Regions from separate parts of the Homo sapiens genome. Here all the other regions are linked to region 2. The links are contacts of gene promoters, found by promoter capture Hi-C in human tissues and cell types (Jung and others, 2019). All regions are on one chromosome and are shown on one strand. Each heading gives the region's core, a stretch centred on a gene start or on the middle of the fragment in contact. The rest is flanking DNA. Distances are from core to core; before and after follow the strand shown.

Evidence for each region. The method cuts DNA at HindIII sites, captures the fragments that hold promoters and counts their contacts. A contact is called where the count stands out against the background at its distance.
Region 1: a contact is called between a fragment that was not itself captured here and the fragment with the promoter of GPR85 in region 2, in 1 of the 25 tissues and cell types used here (spleen).
Region 3: a contact is called between a fragment that was not itself captured here and the fragment with the promoter of GPR85 in region 2, in 1 of the 25 tissues and cell types used here (hippocampus).

What each region holds. Positions count from the first base shown.
Region 1 is chr7:112,555,625-112,559,548 of GRCh38, forward strand. No RefSeq gene overlaps it. Among named protein-coding and RNA genes, the nearest start is that of LINC03076, 60 kb to the right of the region's middle. The HindIII fragment of the contact is 4,517 bases long and covers 1-3,643 here.
Region 2 is chr7:113,084,746-113,088,714 of GRCh38, forward strand. GPR85 (G protein-coupled receptor 85) reads right to left here and starts at 2,082. Exons shown (of 3, transcript NM_001146267.2): 1 at 1,577-2,082; 2 at 1,247-1,364; 3 at 1-146. RefSeq lists a silencer at 1,768-1,827. The HindIII fragment of the contact is 9,773 bases long and covers 1-3,969 here.
Region 3 is chr7:112,461,999-112,466,105 of GRCh38, forward strand. IFRD1 (interferon related developmental regulator 1) reads left to right here. Exons shown (of 12, transcript NM_001550.4): 7 at 3-181; 8 at 272-380. Among named protein-coding and RNA genes, the nearest start is that of IFRD1, 14 kb to the left of the region's middle. The HindIII fragment of the contact is 4,639 bases long and covers 1-3,570 here.

The DNA.
Region 1 (3,924 bases), core at 135-2,634, 530 kb before region 2:
TTCCCAGTCTGGTGGTGAATCCTCCATAGTCTGATGAGTGTAAATATATATATAATACATATATTTAGTGTAAATATATATATATCTTTTTCCTTCTCCCCTTCCCATTGCAATTTGCTTATTATATCATTTGCTTATTATATCTGCATTGCCATTTACATGGGATAAAGGTTGTTTACCCCTAAACATATTGTTTTTGTGTCTTTTCTTCTCCCCTCGTGCATTTCCCACACAGAACAAATGTCCAGAACAGATAAATCTATAGAGACAAAGTAGGCTAGTGGTTGTTTAGGGCTAGTGGAAGACATAGGCTGTGAGATTTCTTTTTGACATGATGAAAACCTAAAATGGACTGGTGATGGTTCCACATATGTGTAAATAAACTAAAAATCAATGAATTGTACACTTTAAATGGGTGAATCATAGGTATGTGAATTATATCTCAATAAAGCTGTTAAATGAAAATTTAAAATAACTTTAGTGACTTACACAATAAAATCTAAACTAGTCCCACTCCACTCTGCCCTCTGTGCAGAGTCTCAGGCTCAAAAATCTCTCCGCACTGTACTCCACAAATTATGAAGTCCATCCTGACTCAATGTTTTGTCCACACGCTAACTGATAGAGTTTGAATATTTGTGTCCTCCAAATCTTATGTTGAAATTTGATCACCATTGTTAGAGGTGAGGACTGGTGGGAGGTGTTTGGATCATGAGGGTGGATCCCTTATGAATGGGTTGGTGCCATCATTGAGGTAATGAGTGAGCTCTTGCTCTGTTAGTTCCCATGAGATCTGATTGTTAAAAAGAACATAGCACTTTCCTTCCCTCTCTCAATCTCTGTCCCTCTCCTTCTCCTCCTCCTTTCTTGCCATGTGACAAATCTGCTCCCACTTTGTCTTCTGCCATGATTGGAAGCTTCCTGAGGCCTTACCAGGAGCAGATACTGGTGCCATGCTTCTTTTGCAGCCTGCAGAACTGTAAGCCAAATATACTTCTTTTCTTTGTAATAACCCAGCCTCAGGTACTCTTCTATAGCAACACAAATGAACTAAGACACTGTCCCTGATGCTCCAGACTGCTCCATGTGTGCAACTGACTCCTGCTCATGCTGCAGCTTCCTTTGGTCAGAATGTCTTTCCCAGTGGCCCTTTTCTTCTGAGGTCTGCCAAGCAAACACCTACTCATCTTCCAAGTCTAGTCACTAGTCACCTACATTTCAAAACTTTATGCAACCACATGAATGTGTCATGAAGGCTTTCTTGCCAGGCTGAATCAACCACTTCCTCTTTTGCACTCTTCTACACCTGTACAAGCTCTGTCACAGCATCTCTAGAGCTTGTTTGCTTACCTGTTTCTTTCTCCTTTATTAGGCAGCTTTTCAGTGGCGGGGATATTGCTGTATTATTATTATTATTATTATTATTATTATTATTATTATTATTATTATTTTTTGAGACAGGATCTCGCTCTGTCCCCCAGGCTGGAGTGCAGTGGTGCAATCTTGGCTCACTGCAAGCTCCACCTCCTGGGTTCATGCCATTCTCCTGCCTCAGCCTCCCAAGTAGCTGGGACTACAGGTGCCCGCCACCACGCCTGGCTATTTTTTTTTTTTTTGTATCTTTAGTAGATACGGGGTTTCACCGTGTTAGCCAGGATGGTCTCGATCTTCTGACCTCGTGATCTGCCTGCCTCAGCCTCCCAAAGTGCTGGGATTACAGGCATGAGCCACCCGCACCTGCCCACTGTATTATTTTTATTCTACATCTTCTACTTGCTTGATTCTGGAGCTGCACACACTTGCTAGCCCTTATCTTCCACATACCATACCCAAATCAGAGCTTATTGCAAGAGCACAGGTCAGACAGGCCTATCTTGGCCTCACACTTATACCCTGCCCCTGCTGCTCTGTGGTCCTGCGTGTTCTCATGGTTGCAGAGACTCTCTTTCCAGATTATTTCTCCAAATGCTGAGCCCAAATATTGACCTCTGACCCATGCCACCATGCTTTTGCCTGTGCTGTGCAGCCTGACTGGCCCCCGCTGTCCTTGTACCTCTGGAAGTTGACTGCAGCCTGTGTACTGGACTGTGAGCTTTGCCAGGTTTCTCCAGTTTAACTTGAGAGCTCAAACTCCAAATTCTGTTTTGCTTTAAGATGTATGAGACCCAGGTCCCCAGCCGGTGCTCTGCCTAAGCTGTCCCAATTCAGCTCCTGTTTCTGCCCACCTTGATCAGTCTTATCCCATATTAGCTATATCTCGTATGGTTTCCTCTGACCCTAACCCCACCCTCTCCTATCTGCATAGTTTTCTCTTTTACCCCTAAGACTATATTAGATACTCTGCATGCTGACAGCTTCCTATGCATATACCAAGTGCTTATTATAGCACTTAACAGTCTATCTTGTAATTATTGCTTATCTGTGTGTCTCCCTCTCCCATTGGCCTCTGGACTCATGCTTGTCAACTTTTTCCTACTTGGACATGTTATAGATAATTTTTATTTGCTGACACACCCCCATTGATTTACCCAGATGGTGAGCTGTAGCAAAGACAAGATAGTGTGTGGATTATTTGTAGTTTATGATTTGTAACTCTAGCCCTTTTATTCCTGCTAAATAATGTATATCACAATGACAGTAAATGACTACAAAGTTATAAGGATAATAATCTGTTTTTTATAACAAATTTTAAAAAGTAAACATTTCACCAACTTTAGTACTTTCTTATCAATAGCAAATTACTTGTGCTAGCCTTCCAAGATGGCTGTACCACATGACTATGTCATTAGGGCATTCTTGCCAGATCCTGAGTTCCTGAGAGCTGGAGTTATATCACATTTATCACTGTAAACCCAGCATCTCACACAGTTCCTGACAATAACAGGCACTCGGTATATGTTTGTTTAATTGGTGGCTGGTTGATGAATTATAAAATGAGATTAATTTTTAAAATTCACTGGGTTTGCTTAAACACCAGGAGACTGAGGCTATCTCCAGCTGTGTAAAGGCAGCTTCTAAATCCAGAGTCCTTTAGAATTCGGTATCCTTTTACAATAAAGCCATGATAGCGGTGACTGTCCTGGAGAAGTAATATACAAAATAGCTAACGGGTTGGTACACTCCTGGAATGTTACTTTTACACACTATGAATGATTTCTAGTCTGGTATTGTGGATGTCTTTTGAGTATCCATATGTAATTAACAAGGCGAACCCATGAATCTATTTCTCTGCTTTTTGATCAGATGCTCACATCATAGTACTTTTAGGGTGTTATTACTACAAGGAGCTCACAATTTCAAATAGCACAGTGGAAACCACGTCTGTCTTAGAGATTATGATTCATACTGTGTTCACTACTGTGTTCACTACCTTGCTACTATCTAAACTGTGATTTGTCCTAATCACTCTGTTTTGCTGAACCTTTAAAATGGGAGTTGAACAAATAATCTCTAATGTCCTCCTTGACTCTAAAAATCTTGATTCTAACAAATGTTGGAAGAATTTAGAAATTACCTGGATGATTAATCTGTTCAGACTGCTGTAACAAAATACCATCAACAAGGTGTCTTATAAGCAACAGTAATTTCTCACATTTCTGGAGGCTGGGAAGTCCAAGATCAAAGCACCAGCAGATTCCATGTCTGGCAAGGGCCTGTTTCATAGATGGCACCTTCTCATTGTGTTCTCACATGGTAGAAAAGACGAACTAGGTCTCTTGGGACTCTTTTACAAGGGCACTAATCCCATTCGTGAGACCTCCATTCTTATGACCTAATCTCCTCCCAAAGGCCCCACTTCATACTGTCACATTGAGGATTAAGTTTCAACATATGAATTTTGAGAGGACACAGACATTCATATCATAGCACTCCATAAAATGGGAATAGAATATTGTAAAGATTGGTCAAGTCTTTCTGTACCCT
Region 2 (3,969 bases), core at 832-3,331:
GCCTCAGTCAAGTCTCATGATCTAGATATAAGAACAAGGAAAAGATAGATCCATACATTTTACTGAAAATATAATCCACAAAGAGAACTGATCTGATCTGCAGTCATGCTTCCTCTTTTCTTCCACTTGTTTTGCCATCAGAATATCTGAAAAAAAAAAAAAAAAAAACCTATCAGTTCTTAAGTTAACAAGCAATGATGTCAGACAGTGCTAACAAAGCTGTTCACTTATGGGGAAGCAAATAAAGTTTTAATTTTGAATACTAATATTTGCTTTACTAAATATTTTTGCTCGAGATTTCAGAGAATTGGCTTGTTTAGTTTTTCAAGCTAAGTGAATTTTAAAATGTCCCTATTTTGGACAATATACATTTGATAGGGTAACTTTAGGAGAGAAGGAATAAAATGTCCCATTCTTGTAAAATATGCCAGTCCAGGAATTAACCACTAGAATTGCAATGGAATCTACAAGATTGCTATTAGGAGGCAGAGACACTACCTACATTTATTTGAGATCTATTAGTATCTGTCAGTGTTTCACAGGCAGCTTCTCTGTTTGATGTGGGTCCAAAGAACCCGTGCAAAATATATCTTAAGTGCCACTATTCATGCTGCATAAGAGTATTTGTTGATTCATCTTAAAGCAAAATTTCAAAATTAACTTCAAAATTAATAGGAACTTACTTGTCCCAAGATTTGATGTGATTTAATCATTTGTCTTTCCCTCTCCACCCTACCCCCCATTTCTGGCAAATCTTTTAAGCCCACATGATTATTAAAATGGTTAATGTAAATATTGGACAGGGAAACACACCCAGAGGAATAATGCACTTCCATTTGTAAACCTTGGCTGCCTGGATTCAAATGAATATAACATGAACCTGTATTTCTTGGGCAATTAAGCCTTTCCCATTTACACTGATAACCTTTGTTGCAAATCACAAGTGGCTGCTTTTTAAAACAAAATGCACATTGTCTCGCAGGTGCCTGGACCACACCAGGGAAATCGGCTTCCTCTGTTATTCCCACCAAGCGTGTTTCTTTTGCCACTTCTCACTGGCCCGGAATATGCTGGTGGAAGCCCAGGCAAAACTGCGTTCGATGATTTTAATTTCCCCACCGGTACATCCTCGGGTAAATACCGATCGCATCATGCAACATTACGAAACCTGAAATCCGCCACCCCTGGATTTATAATGGGGGGAGGGTGGAGGAGGGGGAGAGGGAGAGAGACATGCATTACATACGCGAAGATGGGGAGAGAGATTGCTTCTGTGCTGCAAAGGAACCGTTCCCGGTGATTCGCAGTCTGATATTCCTCAGTCTTGTAAGGCTTTCCAGAAATGGAGCTCTCAGTAAGCCCTACTGAAGATGCATTGTCTGAATGTACTTCCATTATGCAGTTTATTGTCACAAAACACATACACACACACACACACACACACACACAGAGACACACACACACACACACACACACACAACCTGAGGGAGGGCTCTTTCTCGGTGAACCTGCAGTTTCATCAACACTGTGCATTCCCCCACATCCCCCAAACTTAACCAAGAGTATATCCTCCTACCTGTTGGTGTTGGATATCCCGACAGACTATAGCTTCTTTCTATAAATTGCTGATTTTTTTCTTTTTTTCTTTTTCTTTTTTTTTTTTTTTTTTTTGTTTTTTGTTTTTTTTTTTTTTTTTTTTGCCTTAGTGCCTTGACTGAGCATCCAGGCAGGGCTCGGCGGCGCCTGCGCGCTGGAGCCTCCTTGAGCTCCAGCCGCGTCCTCCCCTGTCGCAGCGGCACCGTCTCCCCCAGTAACGCAGGGGCCGCGGCGGCGGCGGCTGCGGTGGCGAGGGCGGCGGCGGGGCTGCTTCAGCCTCTGTGGAACCAGCAGGAACCCCTACCTGACTCCAGAGCTGGCTGGGTTTATTGACTGCCCTGTCCAATCCAACTGGCAGCATTAAGCTTTTGTCCCTTCGTGGCTGCTTCTGAACTTTTCCCTCCCCGCATTTGTAGTGGGGGGCTGGAAAGGCCCTTTCAGGACCTCAGGCCCATCCTCTTCCCAAAGGCAGCGCACGAGGAAGTCACAGTGCCCGTGACGCCCGCCCCCTCCCTCAGCTTCCCGGAACCCTAACCTTCCCCAGACACTTTCTTCCCTTTTCTTTTAGGGTGGTCCAAACCACCGGAGGCTTCTTTTATATATTTATTTTTAAGTGATGTCTCCAGCTAACCTTTAAATTTGCAGGTTAGCTGGAAAAAGACAAGAAAAGAATGGGAAAAAAGAAAAAAAGTTATTTATTTATTTATTTATCTTTTTCCCACAGTTAAAAATCTTTTCAATGGGGAAGAAGGGAAGGCACGTTAGGGCAGCTCTCTCTTTGTTAGTCATCTTCTATTCTCCAATGCACGCAAATATGCGTAAAAGTAGGGAGAAAGCTAAGTTCAGAGGACAACTACAATATGATTTACATTCAGTCTACCTTAAAGGATGTCACTAAAGAATCAGGCTTATAAAATGTTTAAATGGCTATTCCTGGCATTCCACCCCACCAAGCAACAGTATTCCTTTTCCCTTCTTACAAGTTCCGCTGACCAATGATGGGTGATGTCAAAGCAGTTATGTGTACGAGTTTCCTTTTTTCCCCTTTGTTATTACAGATGAAAAATACTAGAAATATAACAAATACGTAAAACTTACACCAGTCCAAACGGTCGGATGATACCACAGACACCACAAAGCCTGACACGTGGGTGCTTAGGAATGCCTCTAGAATCATGCATTTTCTTATTTTACCATTTCCGAAGAGTTTTGTTTGTGGAGGTGATATAAAATTTTAAGCAACAACTTCCCAGTTCTCCTACCCAAAACTAGCAGACACGCTTTCATTAATTCCCAATGTAAAACGTCTGCTTCTTTTTCTGCATGCTTTTTGCTTTATAATAATCTGTTAATGAAACAAAAAATAAAAATCTTCTCTACAGTAATAATCTGATCTTGAGACAGCAGTAAAATACCTCATTGCTGGGTGGTGAGATTGTGACATTCAGGGGAACTCAGGCCAATCAGCATACAGATAATATGGGTTAATTTACATACTGTATTTCTATTGGATGAGCCGAGGTAAAGCCTTATCTTGATGTCACAGTCGTTACACAAAGCCCTATGTTGGTAATACTGAAATGATGTTAAATTTCCCTGATTTGTTCTTGAATTTCCTACGTCCATTTAAATACATGGATAATAGTTTGTTTTTTTCGAAAAGAATATACACAAGGCACTAAACTTTGGCATTCCCTTAACCTAGAAAAATCAATCCTACAGCCATGCTGGAAGTAACTTGAGGGCATTTCCATTCAAATAAAACATTCCACTTTTTGCAAAGCAAATGAATTCAAAACTCAAAACCATGTGGTGGTTTGCAACTTCTAAGTAAAATGTCAAATTCGTTTTTATGAAACTACAAATCACTTCAACTTGTGCTTTTTTGCTTCCCAATAAATGCTTCAATGTACTTTGCAAAGAGTTATTTCCTGAATTTTTACAGTTTTAAAAAATGTATGGAATAAGAGGCTTAAGTTTGCTGAAGATTCATGATTGGTCAGATGTTAGGTTGTACAGATTAGGGAAAAGCTATTTTAAAGTAAATTAAAAGAGTCACTGCACTGCCAGGCCATGAAGCAGTAATATACTCTGCCAAAAGTTATAGGGCCAAGATCCAAGGGTTTTAACTAGTCTTATTCTTTAAGCAGATATTGATTCCTTAAAAATAAGGGAGAGGGTATATGTGTATGCAATATTCTTTCATATCCACATCTCAGGGTATAGTAAAGCTATTTTTTTCCTTTGCAGTTGAGCACAGTTACATCCACTAATTCTTCAGCTTTTCCAGCTGTTGGATAAGAATGTCATTTTCTTGCCTCACAAGGGGACTCAAGAAATTAATGAGATATTTTCTATCTAGCTCATTAACTC
Region 3 (4,107 bases), core at 1-2,500, 620 kb before region 2:
AGGAACTATACTCAACTCTGGAATGTTTGGAAAATATCTTCACTAAATCCTATCTCAAAGAGAAAGACACTACTGTTATTTGCAGCACTCCTAATACAGTGCTTCATATCAGCTCTCTTCTTGCATGGACACTACTGCTGACCATATGCCCAATCAATGAAGTGAAGAAAAAGCTTGAGATGTATGTATTTTTAGTTTCATATTTTATAAAAGCAACATTTAGTGGACATAATTGGTTGTATTCACATAGTAATGACTAACTATTTTTTAGGCATTTCCATAAGCTTCCAAGCCTCCTCTCTTGTGATGATGTAAACATGAGAATAGCTGCTGGTGAATCTTTGGCACTTCTCTTTGAATTGGCCAGAGGAATAGAGAGTGTAAGTATCTAACTGGCAGAGGAAAAAGCTTGTGTCACAAGGCCCATTGTTCCATCATTACCTTGCAATTGAGAATTGGGCAATAACTTTGGAACATGGCCAGCTTGAGAACCCAGTGATTTATTTCCCTACTTCTTGGCAGTGGTGGTGTAATACTTTAGAGAGCAGAAACCAGTAGGGGTTGGTACAGCAGTGTTTGACTGTGGTTCATTATACTTAATTTTTGCTATCTATAGAACTGAAGTTTAGGGATCCTCATGGAGAGAGTTTTGTCTAATATAATCTTTATGAAACTGCTTGAATTTCTCAGATACCCAATACATCAAGCTAATGAAGGCATGTGATGCTTCATAATTAATATCAAACAAATGAATAAAATATTAAGTCAGCATAGGTTTGGGATGAGATGGGTTCAGTAACTTCTCTAAGCCAAAGATGGAAATAAACACTGCTCATTAAGACTGGGACATGTGCTTTGCAGTTACCCATTCACTTGTCCACTCACAGATGTTAGTTACCATGGCTTGGCTCTCGAAGGGATTTGAGTTTGTGATAGTTTGATCAGTCGACCCAATTTGCTTTGTACCTGTTTTTGGTTTAGCACTTACCATCTTATGTTCCAGGAAATCCTTTATCTCGGGCAAACTGGGTCATTTGGTAACCCTAATTTGTCATCTCTATTTTAAGGATTGCTAAGAGAAAGGAATGCCTCAAATCTTACCATTGGAAGGGAGAATGTATTCTTAAGATATGTGATTCAGATACTGTGCTGATATTTAGAAATGAGGAGCAGGTTTGACTGTCTTCACACTGAATCTGTGAAGGATCCAATAAGAAAACTCAAATATATGGGAAATGGGTAACTAAATAGTAGATATTATTGCCAACCTTGAATTACTTACTAGATGCTTTTTAATTTAAGGAGAAAGAATATATTTTCATTCTGAAACTTTTTTGCATTTAAAGAAGTTATTTAACAGTGAACGGTTCCAAACAGGATTAATACAGTTCTGCCATGTATAGTCATTCATATTCCATTCTAGGCCTGTATTGAAGGAAGTTTACAGTCTTAAAATTTTTATGTGTAAAGTGGCTCTCTCCAACTCCCCTACACTCCTTTTGTTTGAGGGATAGTAGGTAGGAATGGAAAGTAAGTTAATGTTGTCAGTAGCTAATAATTCTCCTTATGTGAGAAATTGGACTCAAATTTAGCAATCAATTTAATTTTATTGAGCTAGTTAATAGCTTCTTAACCTCAACGCATGGAAACCAGATGTCCCAATTTTTAATCTTACATTCCTCTACTGGCCAGAAATGGCAGTTTCTTTTCTTTTTTTTCCTTGGAAATGCATTTTTAAAATGAAGTCATAATGCAGTTTAAATTATACATGTTGAATTTGTTTAAGTTTGTATAAACATATATATAGACACATACATACATGTATATACATATACATATATATACACATTTATATACACACACACACACACACACACACACACACACACACACACACCCCACGTATCTTTTCTCCAACTTAATAAATTACACAGGATAACCAGGAGAACTCATCCAGACATATTTCATTTGACTTGAATTTTTATCCAAGGACAAAAATGAACTGGGTTACAAAACAGAACCTAGTGTTTTTATTTGCTTTTTTTTTTTTTTTTTAAAATAAGCTTTTTATATGTGGGTGCTGGTTGGGGGATAGTTATAGGGTGTTCAAAAATTAAATCCAGGGCGTTAGTGAAATACATAGACAGATTTAAAATAGGGTTCATACAGCAAATGAGTTTTGAATTATTCAAGGCTTTTTGCTAACTGACTTTCTGATGTTACTAACTTTGAAATCTAGTGATGTCATGAATTCTGCCTGAGAGACTTAGAAAAAAAACTTTTGAAGAGCTAACTTTTAGGTTGGATTTTAATGAATGAGTTGGTTAAATAATAATAATAAACTGTGTTCAAAGTTGAAATTAGTAATTATTACTCCTTTATGAGAGTTCTAGGTTAATGGATGTTTGCCATATAACCAATTAGATAATAGTAGACTCTGGAGCTGTTCTGCCTACCTTCGGATCTCTTTCTCTCTTACTAGTTGGATAATATTGGGCAACTTCTCTATGCCTCGGTGTCCTTATCATTAAAATGGATAAATTATTAGTCACAACCTCATAGAGTTTTTGAGAACACATGATAGGTACAGTGTAAGTGTTAGCTGTTACTTGGAATGTTGGTTGAATTGAGTATTGCATTTGGCAGTAGTCTACTAGTGGCCTTTTAGGAACTGTAGAGTAACTTAATATAAGAGACATTATTTGGTGGGCAGAATTAAGATCTTGGGAGCCATTGCTGGTGCAATCCTCACTTGGGAAAATTTAACAAAATATAGTTAGACCTTTTCCAGGTCTCACCCATTCCATTCCCCAGCTGAGCGGACAGGGGAAGTGCTACAGCACAGCGAGAAAAAAGATAATCAAAGACCAAATATACTCCTTGGAGCCAAATCTGAAATCACCTAGATTTTATACTTCAGAAGCAGCAACTTAGCATTCTTCTTGTTTTTTTGCCCTTGTTTGTATAATAACTGACTCTGTGTAAAAATATCTCCATACCTTGACAAAGATATTCTGCCTTGATTAGCAGGAATTGAAATAAATAAGTCTTTTTAAAGACAGGGTCTCACTCTGTTGCCCAGGCTGGAGTGCAGTGGCAAGATCATACCTCACTGCAGCCTCAGAGTTCTGGCCTCAAGCAATCCTCCCTCCTCCTTCCAAAGTGTTGGGATTATAGATACAGAGCCACTGTGTCTGGCCTCAAGTTTTATTTTAATATTAGGCTTTTGTATGATTTTTATTTCTTAATACTTAGCTATCCAAGACCCAGCTTATTTTGTTTATAATGAGTGTTCCAGTGACTTCTGTATAGAAATAATAGCTTGGGGAATGGTTAGCTTTTGTGACCTTAAGCATCTCACCCTGTCTGCCTAAACTTTTCTGGAAATTTTCTTTGGTTTCATTTCATCCTAATTCCATTCAACTTTTGAAACCATTTAATTGGTAACTGTTATTTTGCTATGAAATAATTATCTTCAGCTGACCAGTTTGTTGTATTTATATTGTGTTAGATTCTGTTGTATTTATATTGTGTTAGGTTCAAACAGGCTGTTCATAACAGTAAGATCTATAACTTAATGGATGTTTATGTCCTGTGTTTTATATATTTCTAATAGTTCATTTCCCTATAAAAAACCTAGGAGATGTGGGTGGTAATAACTGTTATATAAGAGGAGCCTGAGACAGATTGCTAATGTAGTGCTGCCTGAGGTTGTATAGATCTACATGGTGGATGCTTGTGATTCAAACCTAGATGTTCTGACTGCAAAACCTATGTCTTAAATATGGTATTAAACTGCCTCGTATGGTTGTGATGGCTACACAGATTTTTTTTAAAAAGGTGAGTTCTATATACCTCCAAGTCTAGAATATTGATAAAATAGTTAATGCTTCAGAATTTATTGGGGAATTTATTGTCTTTTTAATGCTTACAACCATTGTTTGAAAGGTTGGGTATTTTCTTTTTTTTCAGATGATAAAATAGATTTATAATTTATAAAACTTGGTATGGAGAGCAGTAGATTGATGATTCTGATCTAGGACTTTTGACCCTGTTGTGTAGTAATGACTGCTGGTTTTTTTTATTATTATAAGAGTATATTAAGAT